Linked DNA regions of Homo sapiens: all the other regions are linked to region 1. The links are contacts of gene promoters, found by promoter capture Hi-C in blood cells and fetal thymus (Javierre and others, 2016). All regions are on one chromosome and are shown on one strand. The core of a region is centred on a gene start or on the middle of the fragment in contact, and the rest is flanking DNA. Distances in the headings are between cores, read along the strand shown. Region 1 holds the start of SLC33A1 (solute carrier family 33 member 1). Region 2 holds the start of COMMD2 (COMM domain containing 2). Region 3 holds the start of SIAH2-AS1 (SIAH2 and CLRN1 antisense RNA 1). Region 4 holds the start of TSC22D2 (TSC22 domain family member 2).

The links. Contacts are between HindIII fragments. The CHiCAGO score rates a contact against its expected background, and 5 or more counts as called.
Region 2: the fragment with the promoter of COMMD2 here is called in contact with the fragment with the promoter of SLC33A1 in region 1 in 7 of 17 cell types (non-activated CD4 T cells, naive CD4 T cells, total CD4 T cells and 4 more); the score reaches 9.4 in non-activated CD4 T cells.
Region 3: a contact is called between the fragment with the promoter of SIAH2-AS1 here and the fragment with the promoter of SLC33A1 in region 1, in 1 of 17 cell types (activated CD4 T cells). The highest score is 5.4, in activated CD4 T cells.
Region 4: the fragment with the promoter of TSC22D2 here is called in contact with the fragment with the promoter of SLC33A1 in region 1 in 2 of 17 cell types (activated CD4 T cells and total CD8 T cells); the score reaches 6.7 in activated CD4 T cells.

The regions. Positions count from the first base shown.
Region 1 is chr3:155,852,942-155,856,849 of GRCh38, reverse strand. It overlaps SLC33A1 (solute carrier family 33 member 1), which reads left to right and starts at 2,423. Exons shown (of 6, transcript NM_004733.4): 1 at 2,423-3,627. The coding sequence starts at 2,853. It overlaps LOC105374174 (a long non-coding RNA gene), which reads right to left and starts at 2,097. Exons shown (of 3, transcript XR_924607.4): 1 at 1,772-2,097. RefSeq lists enhancers at 1,836-2,395, 2,766-2,835. The HindIII fragment of the contact is 4,607 bases long and covers 1-3,182 here.
Region 2 is chr3:149,751,239-149,754,630 of GRCh38, reverse strand. COMMD2 (COMM domain containing 2) reads left to right here and starts at 2,142. Exons shown (of 5, transcript NM_016094.4): 1 at 2,142-2,253; 2 at 2,344-2,421; 3 at 3,146-3,228. The coding sequence starts at 2,187. RefSeq lists a silencer at 1,917-1,986. The HindIII fragment of the contact is 1,089 bases long and covers 1,526-2,614 here.
Region 3 is chr3:150,759,619-150,763,203 of GRCh38, reverse strand. SIAH2-AS1 (SIAH2 and CLRN1 antisense RNA 1) reads right to left here and starts at 1,267. Exons shown (of 3, transcript NR_187306.1): 1 at 1,224-1,267; 2 at 797-865. It overlaps SIAH2 (siah E3 ubiquitin protein ligase 2), which reads left to right and starts at 35. Exons shown (of 2, transcript NM_005067.7): 1 at 35-771. The coding sequence starts at 355. RefSeq lists a silencer at 1-509 and enhancers at 1-564, 2,381-2,480. The HindIII fragment of the contact is 3,527 bases long and covers 1-2,900 here.
Region 4 is chr3:150,406,996-150,410,737 of GRCh38, reverse strand. It overlaps TSC22D2 (TSC22 domain family member 2), which reads right to left and starts at 2,440. Exons shown (of 3, transcript NM_001303264.2): 1 at 1-2,440. The coding sequence starts at 1,387. RefSeq lists enhancers at 1-623, 1,330-1,379 and silencers at 370-649, 910-1,079, 1,750-2,349. The HindIII fragment of the contact is 3,533 bases long and covers 1-2,705 here.

The DNA of each region.
Region 1 (3,908 bases), core at 1,174-3,673:
GGAGGACAGTGGACTGGTGCAACTATTAATATGTAGTACTATAAGGGATAGCACTATGAAAGGGTAACACAGGACACACACACACACACACAAGCTAGTGCATGTAAAAACTGGTGAAATTGGAATAAAGCCTGTGGTCTGGTTAACAATATTTTACAGATGTCAGTTTCCTGGTTTTAATATTGTACTATAATCACGTAAGAGGCAATGATCAGAGGAAGGTGGGTGAAGGGTATATGGGACTCTGCTATATTTGCAATTTCCTGTGAATCTATAATTATTTCAAATTAAAGAAGGGGAAAAAATCAAACACAAGACATACAAACTCATCAAGTATTTCCTTTTTTTTTGGAAAAAAAAAAAACACCTACTGATTGTGAATGGCTTTATTGGCTGCTTCCTTTAACTCCCACAACTCTCTGAAATAGATGTTATGAACTCTATTTTAATTTTCATCAAAATGGAGGCTTAGGTTAAGTAATCTGTCCAAGGCACAACTACTGTTAGAGCCAGGGTTTGAATCCAGCACAATATAAATCCCACTCATGGTTGTTTTGGTTTAATCTTGATTGGACTTAAATGACACCGTTCTTTTCTTTAACACCCAGACTGGAGTGCAATGGCATGATCTCGGCTCACTGCAACCTCCGCCTCCCGGGTTCAAACGATTCTCCAGCCCCAGCCTCCCGAGTATCTGGGACTACAGGCATGAGCCACCACACCCAGCTGATTTTTGTATTTTTAGTAGAGACAGGGTTTCACCATATTGGCCAGGCTTGTCTTGAACCCCTGACCTCAAGTGATCTGCCCGCCTCAGCCTCTCAAAGTGTTGGGATTACAGGTGTGAGCCACCGCGCCCGGCCAACACTGTTCTTTTCTGCAATCTATTCTTCTACTTAACAAAGATTAGAGGACTTTACAGTTGCCTTTTTTTTTTTTTTCCAGACGGAGTCTCACTCTGTCGCCAGGTTGGATTGCAGTGGCACGATCCCGGTTCACTGCAACCTCCGCCTCCCAGGTTCAAGCGAGTCTCCTGTCTCAGCCTCCCAAGTAGCTGGGGCTACAGGCGCGCGCCACCAGGCCGAGCTAATTTTTTGTATTTTTAGTAGAGACGGGGTTTCACCGTGTTGGCCAGGATGGTCTCAATCTCTTGACCTCGTGATCCACCCGCCTCGGCCTCCCAAAGTTCTGGGATTATAGGCGTGAGCCACTGTGCCTAGCCTGCCATTACGTTTGTAATCCCAGCACTTTGGGAGGCCGAGGCAGGCGGATCACGAGGTCAGGAGTTCGAGACCAGCCTGGCCAACATAGTGAAACCCCGTCTCTACTAAAAATACAAAAATTAGCCGGGCGTGGTGGCGCGTGCCTGTAGTCCCAGCTACTCGGGAGGCTGAGGCAGGAGAATCGCTTGAACCCGGGAGGTGGAGGCTGCAGCGAGCCGAGATGGCCCTACTGAACACCAGCCCAGGCGACAGTGTGAGATTCCTCTCAAAAGAAAAAAAAATAATAATCTTTCTGCCAGAGGTGAGAGAGCAGAAAAAAAATTAATCAGATTCTCAAATTCCTGTACGTCTCTTAGTAGAGACGGGTTTCTCCTTGTTGGTCAGGCTGATCTTGAACTCCCAATCTCAGGTGATCCGCCCGCCTCGGCCTTCCAAAGTGCTGGGATTACAGGCGTGAGCCACCGCGCCCGGCCACAAGACGTTTTATTGCAACATAAAAACAGGATGTAACGAGTCTTCCAATCACCAATGTAATTAGAGTTGGTTACCAAGTTTCCCCACGCGTCTTCCACCATGAGGGAGAAACGGACTGCAGACAAACCTAGCACCCCTTGAGCAGTTTAATTCGTACTATAAATATGTAGGCACCGTAAGGACGCGATTCTCCAGTTTGCCAGGCCTTTTTCTATCCTTTTGGGGGCACAAGGCGACCTTGCCTCCTGATTCAAAAACTTCGTAAACGTCAATCCTTCTACCCTTTTCTGGTCAGCCCACGAAAGCAGCAGCATGGCACAACTCCCAGCCTAGAGTTCGGGCACTGCCTGTCGTCAGCATAACGAAGAAACCTACACCCACGAAGACTTCAGACCCCACGTGATTACATCACTCAACCACCAGCGCTGGCCTGGAGGAACCCGCTGTCACGTGACCGCTCGTGCCCAATGACCGAGGCCCACGCTTTCCAGACCGCCACAGTCGCTGTCACAGGGCCTGAGTTTGGGCGGCGCCCCGCCCCGGCCGCACGGTGCGCCGGCGTTAATCCTCCCCGAAGGTTCCGGCAGCCAAGATTGCAGGTTCCCACCAAGCATTGTTTCCGAACTGGGCCACGAGAGCGTGTCCCTGATTGGCTTGCTCTGGAGGCTGGGAAGGGACCTGTTAGAGACTGGGACCACTTCCTGAAGCGCGAGGCAGGAAGTTATATGCTTTTTCTGGAGTCCTGTAGAGAAAGTGCTCTCTGCCGCATTGATAGCAGCGAGAGCTGGAGGTGTTGGGTCGGGAGACCAGCCGTTCGATCCCGCCGCAGGTAGGAGCTGGTTTCCATCCTGGCACCACGGCACACACCTCCAGCCTCGAGCCCGGCGCTGCTGCCCGGGGGTCTCCTTCAGGCTCTTTGACGCCGTTCCAGGGGGCACCTATCCAGGCATCCTCTGGGCCTCTAGCCAGAGGACTGGCTCCCGGCTTCAGCACTCCGGGCTGCAGTAAGAAGTGCCCTTATCGCTCTGAGCCCTGCCACCATCCCGTGAACCACCGAAACCCTGGTCCAGCGCGACAGCCTTGGACCTGGGACTGGACGGATCCAAAACGCTCAGCCTCGGCCCCCCACAGACGGGGCTCTGCATCGTCTCTGATATGTCACCCACCATCTCCCACAAGGACAGCAGCCGGCAACGGCGGCCAGGGAATTTCAGTCACTCTCTGGATATGAAGAGCGGTCCCCTGCCGCCAGGCGGTTGGGATGACAGTCATTTGGACTCAGCGGGCCGGGAAGGGGACAGAGAAGCTCTTCTGGGGGATACCGGCACTGGCGACTTCTTAAAAGCCCCACAGAGCTTCCGGGCCGAACTAAGCAGCATTTTGCTACTACTCTTTCTTTACGTGCTTCAGGGTATTCCCCTGGGCTTGGCGGGAAGCATCCCACTCATTTTGCAAAGCAAAAATGTTAGCTATACAGACCAAGCTTTCTTCAGTTTTGTCTTTTGGCCCTTCAGTCTCAAATTACTCTGGGCCCCGTTGGTTGATGCGGTCTACGTTAAGAACTTCGGTCGTCGCAAATCTTGGCTTGTCCCGACACAGTATATACTAGGACTCTTCATGATCTATTTATCCACTCAGGTGGACCGTTTGCTTGGGAATACCGATGACAGAACACCCGACGTGATTGCTCTCACTGTGGCGTTCTTTTTGTTTGAATTCTTGGCCGCCACTCAGGACATTGCCGTCGATGGTTGGGCGTTAACTATGTTATCCAGGGAAAATGTGGGTTATGCTTCTACTTGCAATTCGGTGGGCCAAACAGCGGGTTACTTTTTGGGCAATGTTTTGTTTTTGGCCCTTGAATCTGCCGACTTTTGTAACAAATATTTGCGGTTTCAGCCTCAACCCAGAGGAATCGTTACTCTTTCAGGTAGTGTATTTAAGCTATTATGGTGTTAGGTTTATTTATCCTTTTGAAAGAGTGTGTGACGTTGGAGGGAAGCTCATTAATTTACTGGAAATCATTGTATGGGAGATAACTCAAGGTAAGTTTTCTGTTTCGTCCAAATGAGCTTCTTTGAAATATTAAAGCCAAAATGAATGATATTAGAGCAATCAAATGATCACTATGCGGTTAACAGGGAGAGGCAACCCATCAAATAACACAACCGAGTCCAGGGATTCATGCCACTTGCTTAATACACAAATGCA
Region 2 (3,392 bases), core at 893-3,392, 6.1 Mb after region 1:
TTTTTTTTTTTTTTGACAGTGTCTGACTCTGTCACCCAGGCTGGAGTGCAGTGACTCAAATCTTGCTCACTGCAACCTCTGCCTCGCAGGTTCAAGCAATTTTCATGCCTTGGGCTACCAAGTAGCTGGGACCACAGGTACATGCCACCAAGCTTTGCTAATTTTTGTATTTTTAGTAGAGATGGGGTTTTACCATGTTGGTCAGGCTAGACTTGAATTTCTGGCCTCAAGTGATCCTCCCGCCTTGGCCTTCCAAAGTGCTGGGTTTACAGGCATCAGCCACCATACCTGGCCTAACTTGGTTCCTTGACCACCTTTTTTAGACAGCCTATTGTGCTACTCCCTAGTCTCACCTTCACCTCGCCTGTCCTCACTTCATTCCCTGAGATTACAGACAAGAAAGGCCATTTCATATTGGCATAATATTGTGTCTATTTGCAAATTCATTTCAGCATTCCTACTCCCTATATATGTACAGTTCTTGAATACCTCTTTTGAATCAGTTGAAACTGGTTTTTACTGTAATCTCTCATTAATTACAGAATGCTGTAATTCTCTCATTAATTAACTAGTTCAATACATTTTTTGACATGTGTTCATTGTACACTTGTAGAAGAATCATGATTTTACCTTTTCTGAAAATTATTCTTTAATAATGGATGTTTTCTCAATAATGTGTGAATAAAGGCAACTTCAGGAAATGATGCAATTTTTGCTAATCTGCAATTCACAGTCTAAGTAAAAGTTGTGTTCTCTCTGCAAATGCTACTTCAAGAACTAACTAATAAGTTCAAGGACCTGTCTTTCTGTGTCCCAGTGGAAGAAACAATTTCAGTCAGATGTGAAGGACAAAGTAGACACAGAGAAGTGAATTGAAAAACTCTTCCAATTTTTAGTCTGCCTGGGAGACTCAGAATATAGAGTTGTCTCAAGCCTTAGATAGAAAAGACAGATATGAAGAGTCTTCTTCCCTTCCCCTCTCTTCCTCCACACCCTCCATTTTCAAGGGGTTAAGATTTGAAGAATCATATTCCTATCAATTAGCAACTTTATCATCTCTGATATTTGAACCACAGCAGGTGAGAAGAGAGTTGGAAAAGGAACTAAATTATCACAGGCGCTAAATACTTTTTAAAAGGCATTGCTCTGGGCCAGGTGTGGTGGTTCATGCTTGTAATCCCAGCACTTTGGGAGGCCAAGTTGGCTGGATGACTTGAGGTCAGGAGTTCAAGACCAGCCTGGCCAACATGGTGAAAACCCGTCTCTACTAAAAATACAAACATTAGCCAGGCATGGTGGTGGGCGCTTGTAATACCAGCTACTCGGGAGGCTGAGGCAGGAGAATCGCTTGAACCCGGGAGGCAGAGGTTGCAGTGAGCCGGGCGACAGAGCGAGACTCCATGTAAAAAACAAAACAAAACAAAACAAACAAACAAAAACATTGCTCTGAATCCTGTAAGCATCGGTCATTGTCATCATTATCTTTATCCTAATTTATAATCACTCATAAAACTTGTCAGAAGCTTTCAGCTTTCAGGCTGTTATGTAGAAGGATGGGCTTTGCAGCAGGTAAGTGAGGGATCCAACCCTCTCCATCTAACTCTGTCACAGGCTTTGTCACATAATCTCTGGAGCTTTGTGTCTTATCTGTAAAAACAAAGCCATGTTTGTTGAGGATATTAACTGAGATACATTTAAGATAACATAGAAGCTCTGGAAACTATTAGCTTTATAAAAGTGTCAGTTGCTGGACTTGTCTATCAGTTTCCTTATCTCTAATGGAAATTATAATGGAACCTACCTCATAGGGTTCTTCTGAACTCCAAATGTATTTAATAAATGTAAGAACACTTCCTGACACGGTTAGTGCTTAACAAATGTGAACTATTGATATTATTAATGTATGCTCCACGAGGGGGCGTGTCGGATTTGAAACACCTTTTCATCTCCCATAGAGCCTAGCACCTTGCACCCAGCAGGCGCTCACTGCATCTTTGCGGGATGATTTCAATGTTCTGACCTCAGCCTGCGCTGCAGGGAACGTCCGAGTGTAACGCGTTAGTTCGTAGGCCGGAACCCAAAGCTCCGGACGCTGCGACGCCGGAGCCTCTAGGCGCCGGGACACGGGCGCCGGAAGTGGCGAAGGCGGGGTCGGCGCTGCCGGGTGAAATCGTAGGACAGTGAAGATGCTGCTGGAATTGTCCGAGGAGCATAAGGAACACCTGGCCTTCCTGCCTCAAGTGGACAGCGCGGGTCAGCGGGCGTGGGGGCGGTGTTCTGTGGGCTGGGGAGGAGGTCAAAGGCAGCGCCTGGCACTCAACAGCCTTCTGACTTTCATTGCAGTGGTCGCCGAGTTTGGGCGGATTGCTGTGGAATTCCTGAGACGCGGCGCAAACCCAAAAATCTACGAAGGCGCCGCCAGTAAGAAGGGAAAGGGGAAGGCTCCGCAGGCTTCTAGGGCGGTTGCGAGCCATTCCCTGTCTCCCGGGAGAGAAACGGATTATTGCGAGTCCTAGGGTCTTGTTCCGATTGTAGTAGAATAAAACCAGCAGAGCTCTTCAGTCAGGGTGCAAATCCTGCCCGTCCCTTAAGTAGCTGTGAGATTGTTAAAGCTTCTATTAAATCAGTTTTCTCATGGTAAAATGTACATAATACCACCTTACTTTCAGAAATACTGAAAAGTGTTTTGTATAAATATACCAAAGTCTGTGGAATAGCTGGGTCAACTGTAAATTGCAAGTATTTGGTTATCATTATTAGTTGTTCAGATATCCGCTTTTGCTAAAAAAAAAAAAAAAAGTGTTGTTTTACCCCTGGGTAAGAGGCAGTCTCTGGGATTAAGTCAATCCCTGTCGAGTTCCTCTTCTGCCAGACTTGAAGGAGCTACGTATTCAAGAGAAGGGCTACGCACCTGATACTAGTCTCCACAGTTCTGCATTTTGTTAAGGTTACTTGGTGGGAAATACCAAAGGCATTTGGCTGGGAGTGGAATGACAAGGAGCAGGAGCCTCTGGCCAACTTACTGTTTTTCATGCAGTGTTTGAAAACATGTAATAATGAATAGTGTTTATTTTTAAATACAAATATGAACAAGATAAATACTACAGTAGTAATTTATTTGCTCGTTTTTACTTTTCTTTCTCAGGAAAACTCAATGTGAGTAGTGACACTGTCCAGCATGGTGTGGAAGGATTAACGTATCTCCTCACTGAGAGCTCAAAGCTCATGGTAAGGGATTTTCTGGACTGTTTTGTGTTGGCTGGATTCTTAAGAACGGTCTGGTGTACTCTACATCATAGTCCTGGCAGGTACCTGTGTGTTTTAATAATGTTGTTAATGGTTTATAATTGATTTTTTGAAGACATACCTAAAAAATAAAAATCATATCATCT
Region 3 (3,585 bases), core at 18-2,517, 5.1 Mb after region 1:
GTGTCCAGGCGTCACGTCCGCGCGCGCCCCCGGGGCTTGCGTCAGCGGCTGTTCCAGAAGCGGGTGGGCCAGGGCTCTGCGCACCGCTGGGGTTCGGGGCCCGGGACGCCGCCGGGAGGAGGGCACCGCGCGGGGTCCGACGCGGAGGCGTGCTCGGAACGCCGGGGGCTGCGGAGTGCATCAGCGCGGTCCAGCCCTCCGCCTGCCGGGCGCCGAGCGTCTCCGCCGCCCGGACCTGGGCTGGGCGCCGTGGCGTTGCCTCGGAGCTCGCTGCCCGCGGGGCGCGCACCGCCTTGACCCGGGCGGCCCCGCGGCAGGCAGGCGCCCGCAGTTCCATGGTTGGTTCGGAGCGCGATGAGCCGCCCGTCCTCCACCGGCCCCAGCGCTAATAAACCCTGCAGCAAGCAGCCGCCGCCGCAGCCCCAGCACACTCCGTCCCCGGCTGCGCCCCCGGCCGCCGCCACCATCTCGGCTGCGGGCCCCGGCTCGTCCGCGGTGCCCGCCGCGGCGGCGGTGATCTCGGGCCCCGGCGGCGGCGGCGGGGCCGGCCCGGTGTCCCCGCAGCACCACGAGCTGACCTCGCTCTTCGAGTGTCCGGTCTGCTTTGACTATGTCCTGCCTCCTATTCTGCAGTGCCAGGCCGGGCACCTGGTGTGTAACCAATGCCGCCAGAAGTTGAGCTGCTGCCCGACGTGCAGGGGCGCCCTGACGCCCAGCATCAGGAACCTGGCTATGGAGAAGGTGGCCTCGGCAGTCCTGTTTCCCTGTAAGGTAAGCCCAGGGACAGCCCACGTACCTCCGCCGGTGACCTCAGGGACTCCGGTATCCGCCAGCCCACTCGCAGGCCCGGAGAGGCGGGCGGCATCTCTCATTTAAAAAAAAAAAAGAAAAAATGTTTACACTTCGTCCACCCTCCCTCAAGCCCACTTTGGGTGTAGGTCTGGGTTGACATTTACCGAGTAATAATTGTTAATAGACAATTAACAGATTAATTGGCATTTGCTGATCGTTAGAACATCGTAGCTCACCCGGCCCAATGCCCGCGTCCTCTGCAGACGTGTATTCGGGTACTCTCGGTAGGGCTGGGCCGCACCAGTAAAACTTGGACCGAGAAACTGACTGTGTGGGGATTGAGGAGGGAGGAAACGGGCGAGCTAAACGCCCCCTTTACCAGCGCTGGGCTCGGCTGAATTGATAATTGGAGTCCTGCACCCCGCGCCTACCGTCTGCGCACCCCTGACACGTGGGAGCTCTCGGGATTGTAGCTAAAAAAAGGGCGCCTACAGCCTGTTTTCCTCTAGCTAGAAGAAAACCCTGCAAGCCACGCCTTTTTCTCTCCTAGCCTTCCAAAGACTGGGAAGGACTGAGGAGTTGTGGCTGCGTTGTTGTACTAAGTGGGGTGAAAACAGTCAATCAAGAAATTAACAAGGGCACTCAAGAGCTGTTGTTACAGTTGTTTAAAGCTCATCACTTCATTTTTTATTTAATGTAAAAAGTTTTCAATGCCCTTGCGAAAAATGCAAGCCACCAAGACAAGAAGTAAAATGAAAGACCAAGATCTCTCCCCTCCTTTCCCACCATTGTTAGGTTTAGTGTGTATCTTTTTAAACTATATATACATACACCCTCGCAGCTAAATATAGAATCATAGATGTCAGTGTATGTCAGGGAGGTTTTTTAATACCCACACATAGATGTAAGTTTTTCTCCAAAAATGGCATCTGCAACTTGCTGTTCTTAAATTCATATTATCACACATATTTCTCTATGCCTGAAACCTAGTCGACTTCATTGTATTTTAAATGGCTGCATAGTATTGCATTGTGTGGTCATATTATAACATTTGTTTACCTGCAGCTATTACGTGGAAACCTTCAGGAGCAGTTTCACAGACATACTTGTCTACGTTATAACCTAGAAGTATACTGTAAAGTCATTTTCTGAAATTAGAAGTGGAGATAATGTCACTAATACTTTCCAGTTTTTTTGTAAAAGTAACTTGCGCTGCCTCTTGGGCCATTTAAGCTGTCTTGCATTTCTCCTTGGTGCTGCTTATTTTATAGGACAAGAGCTCATTTTTAAATTAAAAATAATCCACCAGAGAATTCAGGCTTGGGACTCAGGTCAGTAAAATGAGTGCTTTAATTTGGTCTGCTGCCCTGCTGCAAATCAGGTTTAAAATAGCATATTTAAATAAGAGTTTGAATCGGTGTTTGGACTAGGGTGTTTCAGGCAACCTTAATAAATTGCTGTTAACCCCTCCTCATATAGTGCTTACTAATTCACTCAGCCCAGTTTCTCAAAATTTAGATAAAGTATTTGCATAGTTGTCTTAGGGTTGTGAAAAAGGTGACAACCTAGTGGTTGGAAAAGGTTTGGTGGTAGTTAACATAGAGTGGCTATTTGATGCTTGAGATATATTGCAGGGGTGGGGGATGCCCCATAGGATTTCTGGGGAGCCATTTTCTCACCCCTTTACTTTCCCTTAAACGCGCAGCGGCTAACAAAAGAAATGGCTTTTAGGTGAGTTTTAGTTCACAAATGAGCATTTGATATTAGTCAGTAATCCATAATTTGTTTTTAAAATGTAACCATAATAGAATTGTGTTGTTCCCAAGAGAAAGGGAAGGAAACAGTTATGCTATATGGAGCATGAAGTTTCACTTTCAGGATCTAGAACTCTGGTTCCTATGAAAGCATACGTTCTTTCCTAACGTGAAACAGGCTACTGAAATCAACCTTGAAGAGTAGTTCTGGGAATCAGGGGTTCTCAGCCTTTCTGTACATGTCAGTGGTTTTCTGAGTCTCTATTCTATAAGAATGCAGTGGGGTAAAGCTATTACTTTGCAAGCTGAAATTTAAAAGGGCCAATTATTCCCCTGCAGACCAAGAACCAAGCTTAGGATGTGATCTTGGGGATGCTTTTGTGTGTGCATGTGTGTGAGTTGTATAAAGCTGGGGTGTGTGTCCCTCACCTTTGGTTGATCAATAATCCAAACTATTGGCAGGGCAGCTCAGCCAGTTAGTCTGGATAAACCAAACTTGAATGTATACATAGGCCCAGCGACCAACCAAGATGTGTTAGTTGTAGAGGATGAGAAACAACAGAGAGCCGTAAGGCCTGTATCAAACTTAAAACAAGGCAGATCTGTTTACCTAGCCCTTTGGCCTACAGTTTGAGGCTCCTAGAAATTATGGGACTGCCTTTTTACTGTCCCCACCTGCTCTCAGAATCTCTCATGGGCTGGCTCATGTGAAAAAAACCAACGTTGAATAAAGTACCAGAGCCCACATCTCAAGAGCTGCCACTGTTTGCCTGAAAGACCACCTCCCAGGGCCTTGATTTCCTCATCTATACAAATGAGAGATGAATCTGCTTGACTTCTAAGGACCTGTAGCTTCTAGCATTCTATGAAAAGAAGGGAGGCTATCTGGAATGTTATTGGATGCCCTCTATCTGCCAGTTACTTTGCAGGGGTCAGCTTTTACTAGTTTGCCTTTTTTTTTTTTCAGATGAGGAAACTCATGCCTACAGAGTGGTTAAATGTGAAGTGACTTGTCAAATCACACAGCTAGTAAGAGGAC
Region 4 (3,742 bases), core at 1,191-3,690, 5.4 Mb after region 1:
CCACAGTAGCCGGGGGCACTCCAGTCGGCTGACAAGGCGCGACCTGCCCGCCTTGCGCTGGTCCCGTCCGGGGGGCCATGGCTTCGCTGGGCTGGGAAGACGCGCCCATGAGCTGCGCGCCCACCGAGGAAGCATTCTGGCCGGTGCCCACGGGAAGGGTGGCCGCCGTGGCGGGGCTCGCTGCGGCGCCGGTGGACGAGGGCTGCGCGGGGCTTGGCGGCTGCAGGCCGGCCACGTGCTGCTGCAGGTACTCACTCTGGCCGGAGGGCTGGACGGGCAGCAAATGTCCGGGCGGTATCTGAGGCTGAGGATACGCGAACTGCTGGGGCTGCTGCGCCGCGGGGGCGCCCACTGCAGGGCCCGGCTGCGGAGGCAGGGACATAGCCGGCTGCGCCAGGGTTACATTCGTCGGCGGCAGAGTCTGTCCCCCGGGCCCCGCTCCCTGGGGCTGGCTGGGCTGCGCGGCTGCCATCATTGGCTGCGGCCCGGTCGCGGCTCCCGGGAACGGCGGCAGCGGAGCCGAGCTTTGAGCCACAGCCCCACCTACGGGTGGCGGCGGCGGCTGTGGCTGCCCAACGCTAAAACTCTGCGGCTGGGCCGGAGTGGGCTGGCTCATTTTCTCCGACGGGGGTAGCTGTGACACAGCAGTCAAGGAGCTGTCAGTTCCCGACTCGGGCCCGTGCGCCCCCTGCATGGAGGCCACTACTACCACCACCGACCCTCCGGTGGCGCCCAGGCCGCTGTCCCGCTCCGCAGTCTGGTCAAAAGTACTGCTGTGTCTAATGCAATCCCCGGATCTAGTCAGGACGCTGCTGTCTGAATCCCTCTCATAGTATTCCATACACGTCCATCGGCCGCGTCTATAGGGCTCTCCGCTCCCGTGGTCCAGCTTGATCACGCGAAAACGGGAACTACATGTGGTGGGAGGCTGAGATGGGGCTGCAGTCACTGGCCCGGCGGATGAGCCCGCGAGCTGGGGGCCGCCGGGTGCTCCGGGGGCGGGGGCCGAAGTGGCAGCCGCCGCCAGGGTACTGGCGAGCGCCCCAGACACGCTCCGGGCCGAAACGACTCCTCCTCCGTTGGCGGGAGCAGCAGCCGCCGCTGCCAGCTGCCCATCTAGGAGGAGGTTTGGGGAGACGGTCCCGGGAGTCTCCGCATCCCCAACATTGTTAAGCGTCTCTTCGGAAGAGCTGCGCTCGCAGACCTCCTCAGGGCCATAATCCGTGGCCCGAGAGACGTCGAAAATCTCGGAGGAGACGTCCTCTGTGCGTGACTCGTCCGGGTCGTCCAAGCTCTCGGTGTCCTCGGTGATGCTAGTGGCCACCTGGGCCGTGGTGACACTGGTGATCTGGAAGCAGCTCTTCTTCTTGGCCGGCATCTTGGACATGGTGAAGAAGGCTGGAGGGCAGAGAGGCACGCCGGCTCCTCTGGGTCCTGTCGGAAACCGGGGAGGGCAGAGCACGGGCCCCCAAAGACAAAGTCCGAGTCTGCGCTGGGGTCTGAGGCCCGCCGCTGTTAAGAGTCACGGGCTGATCCAGGCGCTGGCCGCCCGGTGAGACATCCTCCTCCTCGTTTCCTTCTCTGTGTCGGTCTCTTCGGCTCTGCCCCCGTCTCAGTCCCGCGGCGGCTCCTCCTTCCTTTTTAGCTCTCGCAGCCGCGGCGCCTCAATTCAATTCCCTCAGAGGCGGCGAGAGCGCGAACCCAGGGGCGGGCCGGCTGCTTCCTCTCTCGTCTCCGGGCAGCCGTGGTCAGTCCAGCTCGGCGCTCGGCGCGGTCAGCAGGCCTTGGCTGGGGGTGGGAGTGGGAGGGCGAAGAGGAGGAGGAGGAGGCGGTGGCGGCGGCGTGAGGGGCGGTGCTGCCCCGCTCGGGCTCCTCAGGCCGGTGCCGGCGTCAGCGCTGGGCTCTCTGACTGAGGGAAGGAGCGGCGAGTCCGGAGTCGGAGATGCCTAATTCAGCCGGGAGCCGCGGGCCGGAGCTGGCTGAAGGTCCGCGGGCGGGCGGTGGGGCTGTGGCGCGGGCAGGCGGCCCTCCCTCCCCGGCTCTAGCCGGAGCTCAGCCCCAGGGACATGTCGACTGCCTCAGGCGGAAACCCGCTCTGGGGGAGGGGAAAGCCGGCTCGGTCCTCCCCTTACAGGGGGAACCACCCCTGCGGGCGGGCGGCGACGGCGGTCTCGGCCTCCCCTCGCGGCTTCTCTCAGAGAGGGGCGGCGGCGGCAGACCGCTGGCACGGGACCGGAGGCGCCCCGGCTGTGTGAGGTAGCGGTGGTGGCTTCTCCGGCTCCTCCTCGGTGCGCCCAATTCCTAAACCCCGAAGAAACTGAAATTCAAACTGCTGAAGCGGCGGCTGCAGCTCCCTCCGCTGGGCCAAGATGGGGCTGAAATGGCCGCGCCAGGGATGCTGGGAGGAGCAGCAGCCCCGCTGCCGCCGCCGCTGCCGACTAAAATGCCGCCGCTGCCGCAGCCACCGCCAGCGCCGCAGCCGCCGCCGTTCCGTGACGCACCGGCGTCGTGACGTCACCGCTCCGCCCCCTCCGGTTTCCTGCAGTTTCGCGTGGAACCTGGGGTGGGGGGCAATGGGCGGGGCTAAAGGTTAAAAAAGGGAGCGGTTTCTTTATTTAAAATTTTTAAAATTTAAATTTTGTGTTGTAGGTTCTTTAAGCATTGACGAGCTAAAGACCATTTTAAATTCTAAGCCTAGGGAAGCTTACAATGGAACTAATCAGATGTTTTTATGTCGGTTTGTTCCGAGACAGTGGAAGACTGGAGGTCATGTGCTTGTGTCTAATGTTTAGCAAAATCTTAGTGAAACGAGGGCGATAGGAATGGGGGCTGGGGAAGACTTAGATGGGATAAAAAGAGGTGCGGCTGGAAGAACTAAATCACTTTAAAACTTCTGAAAATAAATGTTGACCATTGTAGTCAGAGGAGTAAAATGTTCAGAGAAATGGGGATGATTAAACAAGAACGGCAAGCCAGATTGAGTCAGAAAATTATCTTCCTGCCAGAAATTCTGTCTCCCACAACGGCATCAGGGGGTGGTTACTTGCCCAGGGTGTAGTCAGTTTTTAAAAAGCTTAAGGGTTACCAACATATTCCTAAATTTCCTGAATTTGCTGTGATTCCAGGATTCATTTAAACTCTTGAGACTGTTTTACTTTCGGCACGAAATCAGCTCATGGGCTTTATAAATGTAGAACCTACTGCATTATAGTTCTTCTTTTTGTTTATTCTAAAACTGTTAGTAGCAGCCAGCGTATTATATGATTTGGATTGGGCCATGAACAACCGTAACGAGTGATAAAGCACCCTTTCCTGTTCCAATGCAAAGAACAACTATGAAAAGAAAGTACTGGCAAATTTATCATCTTGTAGTTAGTTCCTGGCCAAAGAAAATGGTAAGGCCATTCTTTTAAGCAGTTAAAAAAAAATGGGGATGGGCTCTTAAACTTTGGCATGCTAAGGCCATTCTTTTAAGCAGTTTAAAAAAATGGGGATGGGCTCCTAAACTTTGACATACTAAAGCAGTCGTCATTTAGGTAAAATCTAAGTCTTAATGGAAATCGTGATTTCATATCTACTGCAGCGTTAGCAATCACATAATGATAACTTAAATCAGTAAATCGTTGAACTCGGTTCTCTAATCTTTGAAGAATAGAAATACTTTTTATCCCAAAAGATGTTTTGAGAATTAAATTTGCAGAGAATTTTTTAGGTCTTTAGTTGTAATTTATAGAGCTAGGTC